5 separate regions of the Homo sapiens genome follow, and regions 2, 3, 4 and 5 are each linked to region 1. Evidence: promoter capture Hi-C in 16 types of primary human blood cells and fetal thymus (Javierre and others, 2016). All regions are on one chromosome and are shown on one strand. The core of a region is centred on a gene start or on the middle of the fragment in contact, and the rest is flanking DNA. Distances in the headings are between cores, read along the strand shown.

Region 1 (2,700 bases), core at 133-2,632:
ATTTGTGTTCATGTGCCTGGAGGAATGACAGGCTACTTCCCTGCATCAATTAGGTAAAGATATGATTTCCTTCTGTTAAATAAAACAATGCCCAAATCTTGAGCTTCTGAAGTAATTAAGAACCCCTTTAGCTGTACAGCACAAAGAGTATAAAACATAATCTCCCTAGAGAGTACAGTCACTTTTTCACAGAAGGCTATTTAAAAACTGCTGATTCCTACCATACAAGGAAAATTCTTCTCAATCTTGACAATATTTATACACAGAGATAGCAGTTGCCAGAAATCATTCAAGAGAATCTCCACACTAATTATATTACATGCAACTTTGAAAAGTAATAACTCATTTCATTCAGCTACATTTTAATAGATGAATAATACATGTGTGTGTTTGAGAAAACAACTTGAATGTAAATAATTGATAGAAGGCAGTAATTTCTAATTACAGCTCTGCCATTAACACTCAATTTATGATTTAGTGTTAGGCATTATTTATTTACAGACCCAGAGAGACTGTTTTAAAGTACTTAAGTATTTATATGTGGACAATCCAGTGGATATTTTCTTTTCAGAACCGGAAAAGAGATAATCCAGTCAGCAACTTTATTGAGCCACCCAGCCTTTCAAAAGCTTTTCCTGAGATAGTCTCAATGCTGCATCATGTTTCAGTTTCCATTTAGTTTCAAAATATTCTGACAGGACACAGACAGCCCTGGCTGAAAGGAGCACAGAGAGAATACTTCGAGCTCATGCTGAGAGAAAAAGGCGAGTTTGTCTTTTCTTACCTGAGACTGGGCCTGAAGGGAGAGTTTCAGTTCTTCATTGACGGTAGGTAGCATGCTAGTTTTGCCACAAGATACTTTGTGAAGTTCTTCCCAGCACTCTTTGGGCTTACCCTTGCAAATCAGTTCCAGGAGTCCTGAACTTCTCGTCCCGCTCATGGCACATTCATAGAAAGTTCCATTGAGCAGAGCCACAGAAAGCCACATCACTGGAGCCACCAATGAGCTCAGAGTGATCTGGCCGAGGACGTAGAAGAAACGGCAGCTGTGGCCTCTGGGAAAGATTTTCCTGGGATTCACACAGCAGCCTGTGAAGAGTCTCCACGACCTATTGTTCAGAAAGAATCCCAGGATCAGTAACACCCAGGCAGGAGCAAAGAGGAAAACCAGCCCATAGGTCATATTCTCAGTGCTGCAGGGGCACTTAAAAGCCACAACAGAAAAGAGACGCTCACTTCCCACGGTCAGCAGAGCCATGAAGCTGTAGCCAATAACAGTTTTCTGATTAAGGAAGAATTTTAAAATGCCCTGAAAAGCATCCATGTTGGAGATGCACAGAGGGAAAATGCTGTGCCTTTGTTATTGGCAGAGCAGCTGTGGCAGTGGCCGAGGGTGGAGCTCTTTCTTCATCAGAAACAACAGTCCTTCTCAGACTGAATTGAGCCAGATAAGGAAACAATGTCATTCCTTAGGAATGAATATTTCTCAACATGTTTAGATAATGCCTCCTACTGGTGGAAATTGGGCTGTGATACTGCAGCCTAAATGCTGAGAATAAATTCAAAGTGCACGGGCTCCATTTTAACCTTCTTTCCATGTGGTTTGGATTGAAAATCAGAAAAGAAATTCTCACTCATACAAATAATAGTCTAGGAATTTTCCAGTGTAAGGAATCAACATTAACAGAAAGAGGTTTCAGCCGACAAATCAAATCTCCAAACCTAGAATTTTATGAATGTTTTTCTCTTCCTATGACTTGAGATTTGGAAGACAGGGATTTGCTGTCTTTTTTCATATATATAAAAACATATGAAAATTATATATATATATATATATCAATAGCTTTTGGAGCACAAGTGGGTTTTGGTTACATGGATGAAATATACATATAAATATACATATATATATATATACATATATATATGAGATTTTAGTGCACCCATCACCGGATATGTATGTGTACCCAATATGTATTTTTTTATCCCTCACCCCCTTCCCACTCTCCCTCTTTCTGAGTCTCCAAAGTCCATTATACCACTCCATATGCCTTTACGTACCCATAGCTTAATTTCCACTTATAAGTGAGAACTACAGTTTTTGGTTTTCTATTTCCGAGTTACTTCGCTTGGAATAACGCCTCTAGCTCCATCAAGTTGCTGCAAAAGACATTATTTCATTCTTTTTTATGACTGAGTAGTATTCCATGGTATATATACACCACAGTTTCTTTATCTATTCATCAGTTGATGGGTACTTAGATTGGTTTCATATCTTTGCAATTGTGAATTGTGTTGCAATAAATATACATGTGCAGGTGTTTTTTTTTAATATATAATGACTTCTTTTTCTTTGGATAGATACCCAGTAGTGGGATTGCTGGACTGAATAGTAGATCTACTTTTAGTACTTAAAGTTCTTTCTTTAAGAATGAAAGAAAGGTGCCGTGGTTCATGTCTGTAATCCTAGCATTTTGGGAGGTCGAGGCAGGTGGATTGCTTGAGCCAAGGAGTACGAGACCAGCCTAGGCAACATGGTGAATCTCCCTCTCTACAAAAAAATACCAAAAAAAAATTAGCCAGGCTCGGTGGCATGCACCTGTAGTCCCAGCTACTCAGGAGGCAGAGATGGGAGGATCGCTTGAGCCCAGGAGGCTGAGGTTGTGGTGAGCCAAATCATGCCACTGCATTCCAGTCTGGGTG
Region 2 (2,700 bases), core at 53-2,552, 300 kb after region 1:
TTCTTCAGAAATATCTTTTCTTACTAATAAAGCCAAAAGTATGCAGAGTTGTATTTCACTTAGAAGCAATCCATTTCAGAACACACATAAAGATTATAATCACAAAGGATTACTTGTTCAATGTCCAGACAGTGTATTATATAAATAGGAAAGCCCTCTCTAGCCTCCTAGGTCTGTGCCACATCTATACCTTGCATAGACAGAGTAGTTAAGCAGCTATTTTAATGAGGCACTACTCTGTTTTTCACTATACTTTTCCACCTGTATTTGTATCAGTCATATCTTCTATATGCTTTCATAAAATATCACCTGGCTAGTTACTCCATGATAACAAAAGAAAAAGGAAAAAAGAACATACTAAAGTTTCAAATCAGTGAGATTTTAACTCTGATAATTGTTTTGACAGAGTTATTAACTTTTTAATAAAAAATTTGAAAAAGAATTGATAAAATAGTATTAGAATAATGAAATAATTTCTTTGATATAACAAACATAAATATATAGGATAGTCTATGTGTAATACTCTGCAACATTGCTTGAGGAGTAATAATGCCCTAAGCCTGGGTTCTTATCCTAAAATCCATACACAGGCCTCACTGCGTGAATGAAACCCCAATACTCTTTGCAACATTTTGTTCATCAGTGTGTTGTGTGTGTTGGGGGATCAGAGCAGGTGTAGGCTCTCTAGCTTTAATTAGATTCCTGAGGCTAGGGACATGAAGAACCACAGACTTAGATTCTCTTAGATTTGCACAGTACAACAAAGCAAACATTCCAATATCCCTCCCTTTGTTATAGTCGAGAAAAATCTTATAAAAATGTCTTAGAAAAAGGAAATTCTCTGTAATAGGTAGTACAGAATTTGTACACAGTTTGTCCAGGAATAAATATACTTCGTGGACTCTATATTTTTTACATGTAAATTATTCTAAGTCCAATACATTTATACTTATTTGGCATGGCTAATGAATGGCTGTTCTAGTTAAATTAATTTGTAGGTTAATTAAGAATAACCAAATATACAATATAAAAACATACATAAAATACAGTCAACTCTTACTGTTGAACCTATATGGAAAAAAGAACTATTTAAAGAGATTAAATTATTGCTTTTCTTATATATGATACACTTTTGCTAGAGAAAATTCATTGTATTGGGTTTTTTATTGCTGCACAACAAACCACCTCAAACATGATGGCTTAAAATAACAATGTATTATCATCTCCTGATTCTGAGGGTTGACTGAACTCAGCCAGGCATTTCTCACTTGGAGTTGTGCCCGGGGGTATGGAATCATCTAAGGGTTTCTTCACTCACTGTCTGGCACCTGGGCTGGGCTGGCTGGAACGGTGAGAGCTGGTGAAACAAACATCTCTCCACTTAGCTAGCTTGAGCTTTCTCTCTGCATTTGGGTCTCACAGTAGTTGGACTTCTTAAGTGGCGGTGGGTTTCCCCCAGAGCAAGTGTTTTAAGACAAGCAAAAGCTGCAAGGCTCCTTATGACCTAGTTTTAGGAATTTTACAGTAGCACTTCTGCTGAATTTTACTGATGATAGAGGTCCAGCTCATTTTCAAGGAGAAGAAAACAGAAAGGTGTGACTTCTGGGAGGCATGATTCATTAGAGAGCTATCTTTGTAGACTAGCTGCCAAACATACTAATACTTCTATGTGATTCCTGCCAGTATATTTTCTGTTCATATCTAACTCTGTGGGAATTTTAAGCATACCATATATAGTTTTTTTTACCTGTGTTTCTGTTCAGCATTGTATCTGAGGAATTTCCTATGGCATTAACATTTATTTTAAAACATTTCCATGGTTTTAACTTAATATCACTTTTAAAATAGATTATTTATAATAATTATCCTCATAATAACTGACATAATCTGAGTGCTTATTTTTGCCAAACACAGTTCCAAGACCTTTATAACTATTAATGGATTTAATCCTCATAATGACCCCAGGAACAGGTCCTATATGATTCCCGTTTTGCAACTGAAAATCCGAGATACAGAGAGGCTAAGGAACTTGCCCAAAGTCACACAGCTACCATGTGGCAGAATCGGAATTTGAATGCAGGCGGTCTGCTTTCGGAGCTTGTGCAATACTGCCCAGTTACAAGGCATTTGGGGACTCTATGGTAACTACAGGGTCACCACAAATCTTTACTCTTTTTTTTTTTCACATGGTACATTATTACATTTCAGGGGTTTGAGGTTGTTCAGAATTTTAATAAGTGAGAGTTCAGAATTTGGATAAATTTTGACAAATCAAATTAGCTTCTTTTTGAACCTTACATATAAATTTATTTAAAATCTTGCAATGTGGAAAGTCTTTTAAGCATGGCACTGAACTCAAAAGCCATAAAGGAAAATTGAAACACCAAATTAGATTTCTGCAGAGGAAAAAAGTATCCATCAATATGCATTCTAATTATATCTAGAATTAAAAGGAGCCTTAGAAATCACACCCTTCAACCTTGTCATATTAAAGATGATTAAGTAGCCACCACATATTTTGCTCAAAATTACGGTTAGTAACAAACTTGGGTATGGAATAGAGTCCTCAAGAATCCTAATCCACTAAACCTCATCATTTATGTGTCTAAATCTATATGTTTGAGATTTAACTTATTTGATGACCATTATCTGTTAAAGAAAAATAACTTGCGTTCAGAAGCAGAAATCAAATGCTTTAAA
Region 3 (2,700 bases), core at 15-2,514, 320 kb after region 1:
AAATGCAACCATAGAATATGTATATCCTGTATTACTGGCTTTTTCTCTCTCATTTTCTGTTTTTAAGATTCATTCATGTTGTTCATAAAGCTTCATTTTCATTGATGAATAGAATGTCACTGTATGACACACTGCATAGCAACTGCACTATTGAGGGATATTTGGGCTGTCTCTAATTTGGTGTAATAGTGAATGCCACTAAGAACATTCTGGATGGTATATATTGCAGCCTAATATGGCTGTGTCATAGGGAATGCTCACTTTCAACTTTATAGGATAATACTCAACAATTTTCAAAACCAACTCAACAATTTACACTCCCACCAGCAGTTTAAGGGTTCTCTTTGCTTCACATCCTCACCAACCACTGAAATCACTAGATTCTTTAATTCCAACTATTCTGATGGATATCTAGTGGTACCTCATTGAACTTTAATTAGCACTCTCATGACTGTTAATAAGCATAAGCACATTTTCATGTTTATTGGCCATTTAGAGTTCCCTATTTGTAAACTGCCTGTCAAGACTTTTGTTCATTTTCTACTGGGTTGCTGTCTTCCTGTTACTGATTTATAGGTCTTTTTTACACTAGATAAAAGTCTTTTTATCATTATATGTATTCCAAATATCTTCTCTTCTATAACTTGCCCTTTCGTTCTTAGTAATTTTTTATGAAGAGAGACGTTTAATGTTTGTCAAATTTATTCACTTTTCCTTTACAATCAATCAATACTGTTTCTATCCTATTTAAGAAATATTTCATTATCTTTAAGCTATGAAGCTATTTTTCTCAGATTTTCTTCTGATAGCTTTACTGATTTGCCTTTCATATTTGTTTCTATAATCCATGTGAAATTGATTTTTGTCTAATATGTGAGTAGGGATCAAGTTTTATGAATTTCTACATAGATTTCCAACTCTCCAGGCACCCTTTATGACAGTCCTTTCCCCACTGCTCTGCTGTACCTGTTCTGTCATCAAGCATGTGTCTACAACTGCAAAGGTCTTTTCTGGCATCTCCGGTTCAGTGATCTTCTAGTTGTCAGTCTTTATACCAAAAGCACTCTGACCAAATTACTGTAACTTTAAAATAAGCCATGAATTATTTGCTAGTGTCTTGTAGGACAGACCCTCTTGCCCTGTTCTTCATGAGTGTCTTGGCTCTTCATGGCCCTTTTCATTTCCATATAAATTGTGGCATGAGCTTCAGTTTTCTATAAAGAAACTTGTTAAAATTTTGGTTGGACTTAACAAAAATACAACTAATGACCCTCACAGAGTCCACTTCGCTCCCCTGCTACCTTTCCTGGAGCAGGTGCTGGTAGCCACAGCTAAGAGACCTGAATACAGATCACATCACAGGACTCTGTGCAGACACTTCCCAGTACCAGATCAAAGCCCAGTAGCTCTGCTGGGTGGCTAGATTCAGAGGAGAAATAGCATCACTGCAGTCTGGCTCTCAGGGAGCCATTTCTAGGGGAAAGGGGAGAACACCACAACAAGGGAGCACCCTGTGGGACAAAAGAATCTGAACGGTAGCCCTTGAGTCCCGGATCTACCATCTGACATAGTTTACCCAAATGAGAAGGAACCAGAAAAACAATTCTGGTAATATGACAAACATGGTTAACACCCCCAAAAGATAACACTAGCTCACCAGCAATGGATCCAAACTAAGACTAAATCTCTGAATTGCCAGAAAAAGAATTTAGAAGATCAACTATTAAGTCAATCAAGGAGGCACAAGTCCAACTTAAAGAAATCAAAAAAATGATACAGGATACGAATGAAAAAATCTCCAGTGAAATACATGGCATAAATAAAAAAGCAATCACAATTTCTGGAAGTCAAGGACACACTTAGAGAAATGCAAAATGCACTGGAAACTCGCAGCAACAGAATCGAACAAGTAGAAGAAAAAGTCAGAGCTCGAAGACAAGGCTTTCAAATTAACTCAATCCAACAAAGACAAAGAAAAAAGAATTAAATAAAAATGAACAAAGCCTCCAATAAGTTTGGGATTATGTTAAATGACCAAACCTAAGAACAACTGGTGTTCCTGAGGAAGAAGAGAAATCTAAAAGTCTGGGAAACATGTTTGAGGGAATAATCGAGGACAACTTCCCCAGCCTTGCTAGAGATCTAGGCATCCAAATACAAGCAGCTCTGGGAAGAACACCTGGGAAATTCATCGCAAAAAGATCACCACCTAGGCACACAGTCACCAGGTTATCTAAAGTGAAGATGAAAAAAAAAAAAAATCTTAAGAGCTATGAGACAAAAGCATCAGGTAACTTTTAAAGGAAAACCTATCAGATTAACAGCAGATTTCTCAGCAGAAACCCTACAAGCTAGACAGCATTGGGGTCCTACCTTTGTTCTCCTTAAACAAAATAATTATCATATAAGAATTTTGTATCCAGTGAAACTAAGCTTCATAAATGAAGGGAAGACACAGTCTTTTTTAGACAAACAAATGCTGCGAGAATTTGCCATTACCAAAAGAGAACTACAAGAACCACTATAAGAAGCTCTAAATCTTGAAAGAAATCCTTGAAATACACCAAAATAGAACCTCCTTAAAGCATAAATCTCACAGGATCTATAAAACAACAATACAATGAAAAAAATCCAAGGTTTTCAGGAAACAACTTGCAGGATGAATAGAATAGTATGCTACATCTCAATACTAACGTTGAA
Region 4 (2,500 bases), core at 1-2,500, 390 kb after region 1:
AAAGGGGAACAAGGGCCAGCAGGTCTTCCTGGGAAGCCAGGTCTGACTGGACCCCCTGGGAATATGGGACCCCAAGGACCAAAAGGCATCCCGGGTAGCCATGGTCTCCCAGGCCCTAAAGGTGAGACAGGGCCAGCTGGGCCTGCAGGATACCCTGGGGCTAAGGGTGAAAGGGGTTCCCCTGGGTCAGATGGAAAACCAGGGTACCCAGGAAAACCAGGTCTCGATGGTCCTAAGGGTAACCCAGGGTTACCAGGTCCAAAAGGTGATCCTGGAGTTGGAGGACCTCCTGGTCTCCCAGGCCCTGTGGGCCCAGCAGGAGCAAAGGGAATGCCCGGACACAATGGAGAGGCTGGCCCAAGAGGTGCCCCTGGAATACCAGGTACTAGAGGCCCTATTGGGCCACCAGGCATTCCAGGATTCCCTGGGTCTAAAGGGGATCCAGGAAGTCCCGGTCCTCCTGGCCCAGCTGGCATAGCAACTAAGGGCCTCAATGGACCCACCGGGCCACCAGGGCCTCCAGGTCCAAGAGGCCACTCTGGAGAGCCTGGTCTTCCAGGGCCCCCTGGGCCTCCAGGCCCACCAGGTCAAGCAGTCATGCCTGAGGGTTTTATAAAGGCAGGCCAAAGGCCCAGTCTTTCTGGGACCCCTCTTGTTAGTGCCAACCAGGGGGTAACAGGAATGCCTGTGTCTGCTTTTACTGTTATTCTCTCCAAAGCTTACCCAGCAATAGGAACTCCCATACCATTTGATAAAATTTTGTATAACAGGCAACAGCATTATGACCCAAGGACTGGAATCTTTACTTGTCAGATACCAGGAATATACTATTTTTCATACCACGTGCATGTGAAAGGGACTCATGTTTGGGTAGGCCTGTATAAGAATGGCACCCCTGTAATGTACACCTATGATGAATACACCAAAGGCTACCTGGATCAGGCTTCAGGGAGTGCCATCATCGATCTCACAGAAAATGACCAGGTGTGGCTCCAGCTTCCCAATGCCGAGTCAAATGGCCTATACTCCTCTGAGTATGTCCACTCCTCTTTCTCAGGATTCCTAGTGGCTCCAATGTGAGTACACACAGAGCTAATCTAAATCTTGTGCTAGAAAAAGCATTCTCTAACTCTACCCCACCCTACAAAATGCATATGGAGGTAGGCTGAAAAGAATGTAATTTTTATTTTCTGAAATACAGATTTGAGCTATCAGACCAACAAACCTTCCCCCTGAAAAGTGAGCAGCAACGTAAAAACGTATGTGAAGCCTCTCTTGAATTTCTAGTTAGCAATCTTAAGGCTCTTTAAGGTTTTCTCCAATATTAAAAAATATCACCAAAGAAGTCCTGCTATGTTAAAAACAAACAACAAAAAACAAACAACAAAAAAAAAATTAAAAAAAAAAACAGAAATAGAGCTCTAAGTTATGTGAAATTTGATTTGAGAAACTCGGCATTTCCTTTTTAAAAAAGCCTGTTTCTAACTATGAATATGAGAACTTCTAGGAAACATCCAGGAGGTATCATATAACTTTGTAGAACTTAAATACTTGAATATTCAAATTTAAAAGACACTGTATCCCCTAAAATATTTCTGATGGTGCACTACTCTGAGGCCTGTATGGCCCCTTTCATCAATATCTATTCAAATATACAGGTGCATATATACTTGTTAAAGCTCTTATATAAAAAAGCCCCAAAATATTGAAGTTCATCTGAAATGCAAGGTGCTTTCATCAATGAACCTTTTCAAACTTTTCTATGATTGCAGAGAAGCTTTTTATATACCCAGCATAACTTGGAAACAGGTATCTGACCTATTCTTATTTAGTTAACACAAGTGTGATTAATTTGATTTCTTTAATTCCTTATTGAATCTTATGTGATATGATTTTCTGGATTTACAGAACATTAGCACATGTACCTTGTGCCTCCCATTCAAGTGAAGTTATAATTTACACTGAGGGTTTCAAAATTCGACTAGAAGTGGAGATATATTATTTATTTATGCACTGTACTGTATTTTTATATTGCTGTTTAAAACTTTTAAGCTGTGCCTCACTTATTAAAGCACAAAATGTTTTACCTACTCCTTATTTACGACGCAATAAAATAACATCAATAGATTTTTAGGCTGAATTAATTTGAAAGCAGCAATTTGCTGTTCTCAACCATTCTTTCAAGGCTTTTCATTGTTCAAAGTTAATAAAAAAGTAGGACAATAAAGTGATGGGTGGCTTTTACAGTTGTCATGGATATGTCCCTATATTGGTGATGCATCTTTATTCCCACAGACCCAACCACTCATTGTTGACTGTGAAGAGGTACCCACAAAACCACATGCAATCTGAGTCAGGGTCAAGGGCTGATGACTAGGGATAGAAAAATGACAAAATCACCCCAAAGTTGTAATTTTCTCCTGGGAGGGAAAGAAGCAGGTGACAGAGAAATATGCAGTTTGAACAAATATTCTGCAGTTACTATTTATTGTCTTGACAT
Region 5 (2,700 bases), core at 47-2,546, 280 kb after region 1:
TGCAGAAGGAAGGTATCGCAAAGGAGGTGTGATTTGTATGTCTGACCTTAAATAAGAGGTAGGAAGTCACCAGAGAGGAAAGGGAGAAGGCATTCTACATATATCTATGCCACTCAAAGTGTGATCTTCCAACCAGTAGCATCTGCTTCACCAGACAAGTTATTTAGAAATGCAGAATCTAAGGTTTCACCAGGGCCTCTGAATCAGAATCTCCATTTTAACAAGATCTCTAGGTGATTCACGTGTACATGAAAGTCTGAGAAACACTGATGTTGACAGAATAGCGAGAACAAAAACTTGATATAAGAATAAAAGGCAATCATTTCAGTAGGAGTAAAGGGTACTTTTATGGAGATAGAGTTAAGGAAGATGGAAAGGTAATTTAGGAACAAGACTGTACAATTAGCCTTAGGATGCTATATGGAATGGAAGCCAATGAGATATTGTGTGCATGTGATTAAATATATTTGTGCCTAAGTAAATAATAAAAAAAGATGTGGGAAATTTTAAAGAACTCAAAAATAGAAGTCTGTGCTAATGAAAAGTGAAGAGAGGTTGGGGAGGGGTTAGATGGCCTAGTGGAAAGGGAGAGGAGGACAAAGATGAGAGATTTCCCAGGTATATTAAGCAGGATTTAATGCATAGCACACTGGAGGTAAAAGGGTGAAGACAACGGAGGTTATTAGCTGGAGAATTCTAATGGATGGTTAAGTAAAGAATACACACAAGGTGACCGGCATGTTTGGTTGTTTTTGGTTTCTAGGCGGAAGGAGAATCTCAAGCTTGATATCAGAACACTGAGTGGAGCTGCCTAGTGTGGAGGAGGAACTGCGTATGAGACTCAGGAAAACAGGTCTCAGGGAAAGATTTGGGAGTCAGAGTCAGTGTATTGGTGACAGCTAAGGCCAAGGGACGAGACAGAGAGAGAGAGAGGAGAGACAGAGAGAGTTGGCTCATGATTCTCCCAATGGTGGGCAGGGGCAGGAACTGAGCTAGCAGCATTGGCGACACTGCGGTGAACAAGGCTGACACGTTCCCTCTCCAATGATAATTTAATCTTGCAAGTCAGAGATTCCCCCGTATCCCCACCCTCAGCACTGGCGAGGATCTGGTGACGCACTGCACGTGATAGAGAACAGAGGATGAAGATTTTGCTTGGAAGACGCTTCTCCCCTCCATACATCCTTAAGCACTGGCAGGAATCAGACTGGAGGGAGGAGCTCAGTCCTGACTGACACTGGCATCAGCATCTTTGCCCCTGTTACCATGACAACCGCTGACGTCAAACCTGTGCGACTCGCTAAGGCCATGCTGTGTTTCGTGATTGGCTCGCTGTGCCTTCCATCCCAGCCAGCTCAGTTGCATTAACTTTACTTTAACCATTTGGAGCAATGACTTAAATATTGTGCCATTTCACACAAGGGATGATGCGGGCAGTGGTGGGAATGTAGTGAGGACAAACCTGAGAAAACAGAAGGACAACTTAAAAGGGAGGGAAGAAATGAGGATGACTGATTTTTTAGGTTAGTGCAAAAGTAATTGTGGTTTTTGCTTACTAGCTTGGTTAAAGTCTGTGCTTGGAAAAGTAACTAAAATGTAATTATGGAATATGGGAAGAGGGGCATGCTAAAATGGGATGGGGATTTAATGAGCTGTTGCAAGCACATCAACTTTCCTGCCACCCTGGGGCTGTGGGATGTGAAGATTTTAGAAGACAGATAGAAATGGGCTTCTGAAGGTCAGAGAAATGTGAAGCCCAGAGACAAGGAAATGTCAACCATCAGTATATAGATGATAGTTAAAAGCTTCCCAGTGGTAGAGAGCTGAAGGACAACAGGAGAAGAAAGGAGAGCCAAATACAGAATGTTAGGGAATATCAACATTAAAAGAGAAAGGTAGCAGAAATGGAGGTAAAGCAGTTAGAGGTAGCTGACGAATCAGAATCAGAATCAGCAGCAGAATAGACACATAATAGAGAATGTAATGAAGTAGGGATTTTAAAGTATGTGCAGTATAATCCTGTAATTAGTAATAGTTCTCGCAATCTTTTTTGCATTCTAAATAGAAAAAAGTATTTTGGTTTAATTCTAAAAAATATTTCTTCCACTGAAATATTTTAAATCAGAGGCCTAGAAAACAAGGGCTGGAAAGAACCTTAGACATCTAGCCCTCCTGGATGTGATAAAAATGAGCTAAACTTTTCTTCTTTTTTTTTTTGAGTCGGAGTTTCACTCTTGTTGCCCAGGCTGGAGTGCAATGGCGCGATCTTGGCTCACCGCAACCTCTGCCTCCCAGGTTCAAGCGATTCTCCTGCCTCAGCCTCTCTAGTAGCTGGGATTACAGGCATGTGCCACCATGCCCGCCTGATTTTATATTTTTAGTAGAGACGAGGTTTCTCCATGTTGGTCAGGCTGGTCTTGAACTCCTGACCTCAGGTGATTCGTCCGCCTCAGCCTCCCAAAGTGGTGGGATTACAGGCGTGAGCCACCGCTCCCGGCCAAAATGAGGTAAATTTTTCTAAATATCTGTACAAAAAGCATGAAATCCTATATACGCTGAGATTGCTAAGCACTTTACAGTCTTCATTACAGAGACTGGTAGGACTTTTGGTCCTGCTTCATCAATCCAGATTTTTCATCTCTAAAACCACAGAAGAGAATGAAACACAGTAGACTGCTAGTTAAAATGAAATTTTTATCA

Evidence for each region. Contacts are between HindIII fragments. The CHiCAGO score rates a contact against its expected background, and 5 or more counts as called.
Region 2: a contact is called between a fragment that was not itself captured here and the fragment with the promoter of CALHM5 in region 1, in 1 of 17 cell types (total B cells). The highest score is 5.7, in total B cells.
Region 3: a contact is called between a fragment that was not itself captured here and the fragment with the promoter of CALHM5 in region 1, in 1 of 17 cell types (total CD8 T cells). The highest score is 5.1, in total CD8 T cells.
Region 4: a contact is called between a fragment that was not itself captured here and the fragment with the promoter of CALHM5 in region 1, in 1 of 17 cell types (naive B cells). The highest score is 5.5, in naive B cells.
Region 5: a contact is called between a fragment that was not itself captured here and the fragment with the promoter of CALHM5 in region 1, in 6 of 17 cell types (neutrophils, total B cells, naive B cells and 3 more). The highest score is 10.3, in neutrophils.

What each region holds. Positions count from the first base shown.
Region 1 is chr6:116,510,321-116,513,020 of GRCh38, reverse strand. CALHM5 (calcium homeostasis modulator family member 5) reads right to left here and starts at 1,382. Exons shown (of 2, transcript NM_153711.5): 1 at 785-1,382. The coding sequence starts at 1,324. All of the region lies in intron 3 of TRAPPC3L (trafficking protein particle complex subunit 3L), which reads left to right. RefSeq lists an enhancer at 1,090-1,671. The HindIII fragment of the contact is 2,544 bases long and covers 632-2,700 here.
Region 2 is chr6:116,209,850-116,212,549 of GRCh38, reverse strand. The region is part of intron 6 of NT5DC1 (5'-nucleotidase domain containing 1); the gene reads right to left. It also overlaps a transcript of COL10A1 not described here. Among named protein-coding and RNA genes, the nearest start is that of TSPYL4, 43 kb to the left of the region's middle. The HindIII fragment of the contact is 3,295 bases long and covers 1-2,700 here.
Region 3 is chr6:116,185,863-116,188,562 of GRCh38, reverse strand. The region is part of intron 6 of NT5DC1 (5'-nucleotidase domain containing 1); the gene reads right to left. It also overlaps a transcript of COL10A1 not described here. Among named protein-coding and RNA genes, the nearest start is that of COL10A1, 61 kb to the right of the region's middle. The HindIII fragment of the contact is 2,343 bases long and covers 93-2,435 here.
Region 4 is chr6:116,118,653-116,121,152 of GRCh38, reverse strand. All of the region lies in intron 6 of NT5DC1 (5'-nucleotidase domain containing 1), which reads right to left. It overlaps COL10A1 (collagen type X alpha 1 chain), which reads left to right. Exons shown (of 3, transcript NM_000493.4): 3 at 1-2,244. The coding sequence ends at 1,080. Among named protein-coding and RNA genes, the nearest start is that of COL10A1, 6.2 kb to the left of the region's middle. The HindIII fragment of the contact is 1,059 bases long and covers 721-1,779 here.
Region 5 is chr6:116,228,026-116,230,725 of GRCh38, reverse strand. The region is part of intron 8 of NT5DC1 (5'-nucleotidase domain containing 1); the gene reads right to left. Among named protein-coding and RNA genes, the nearest start is that of TSPYL4, 25 kb to the left of the region's middle. The HindIII fragment of the contact is 1,023 bases long and covers 785-1,807 here.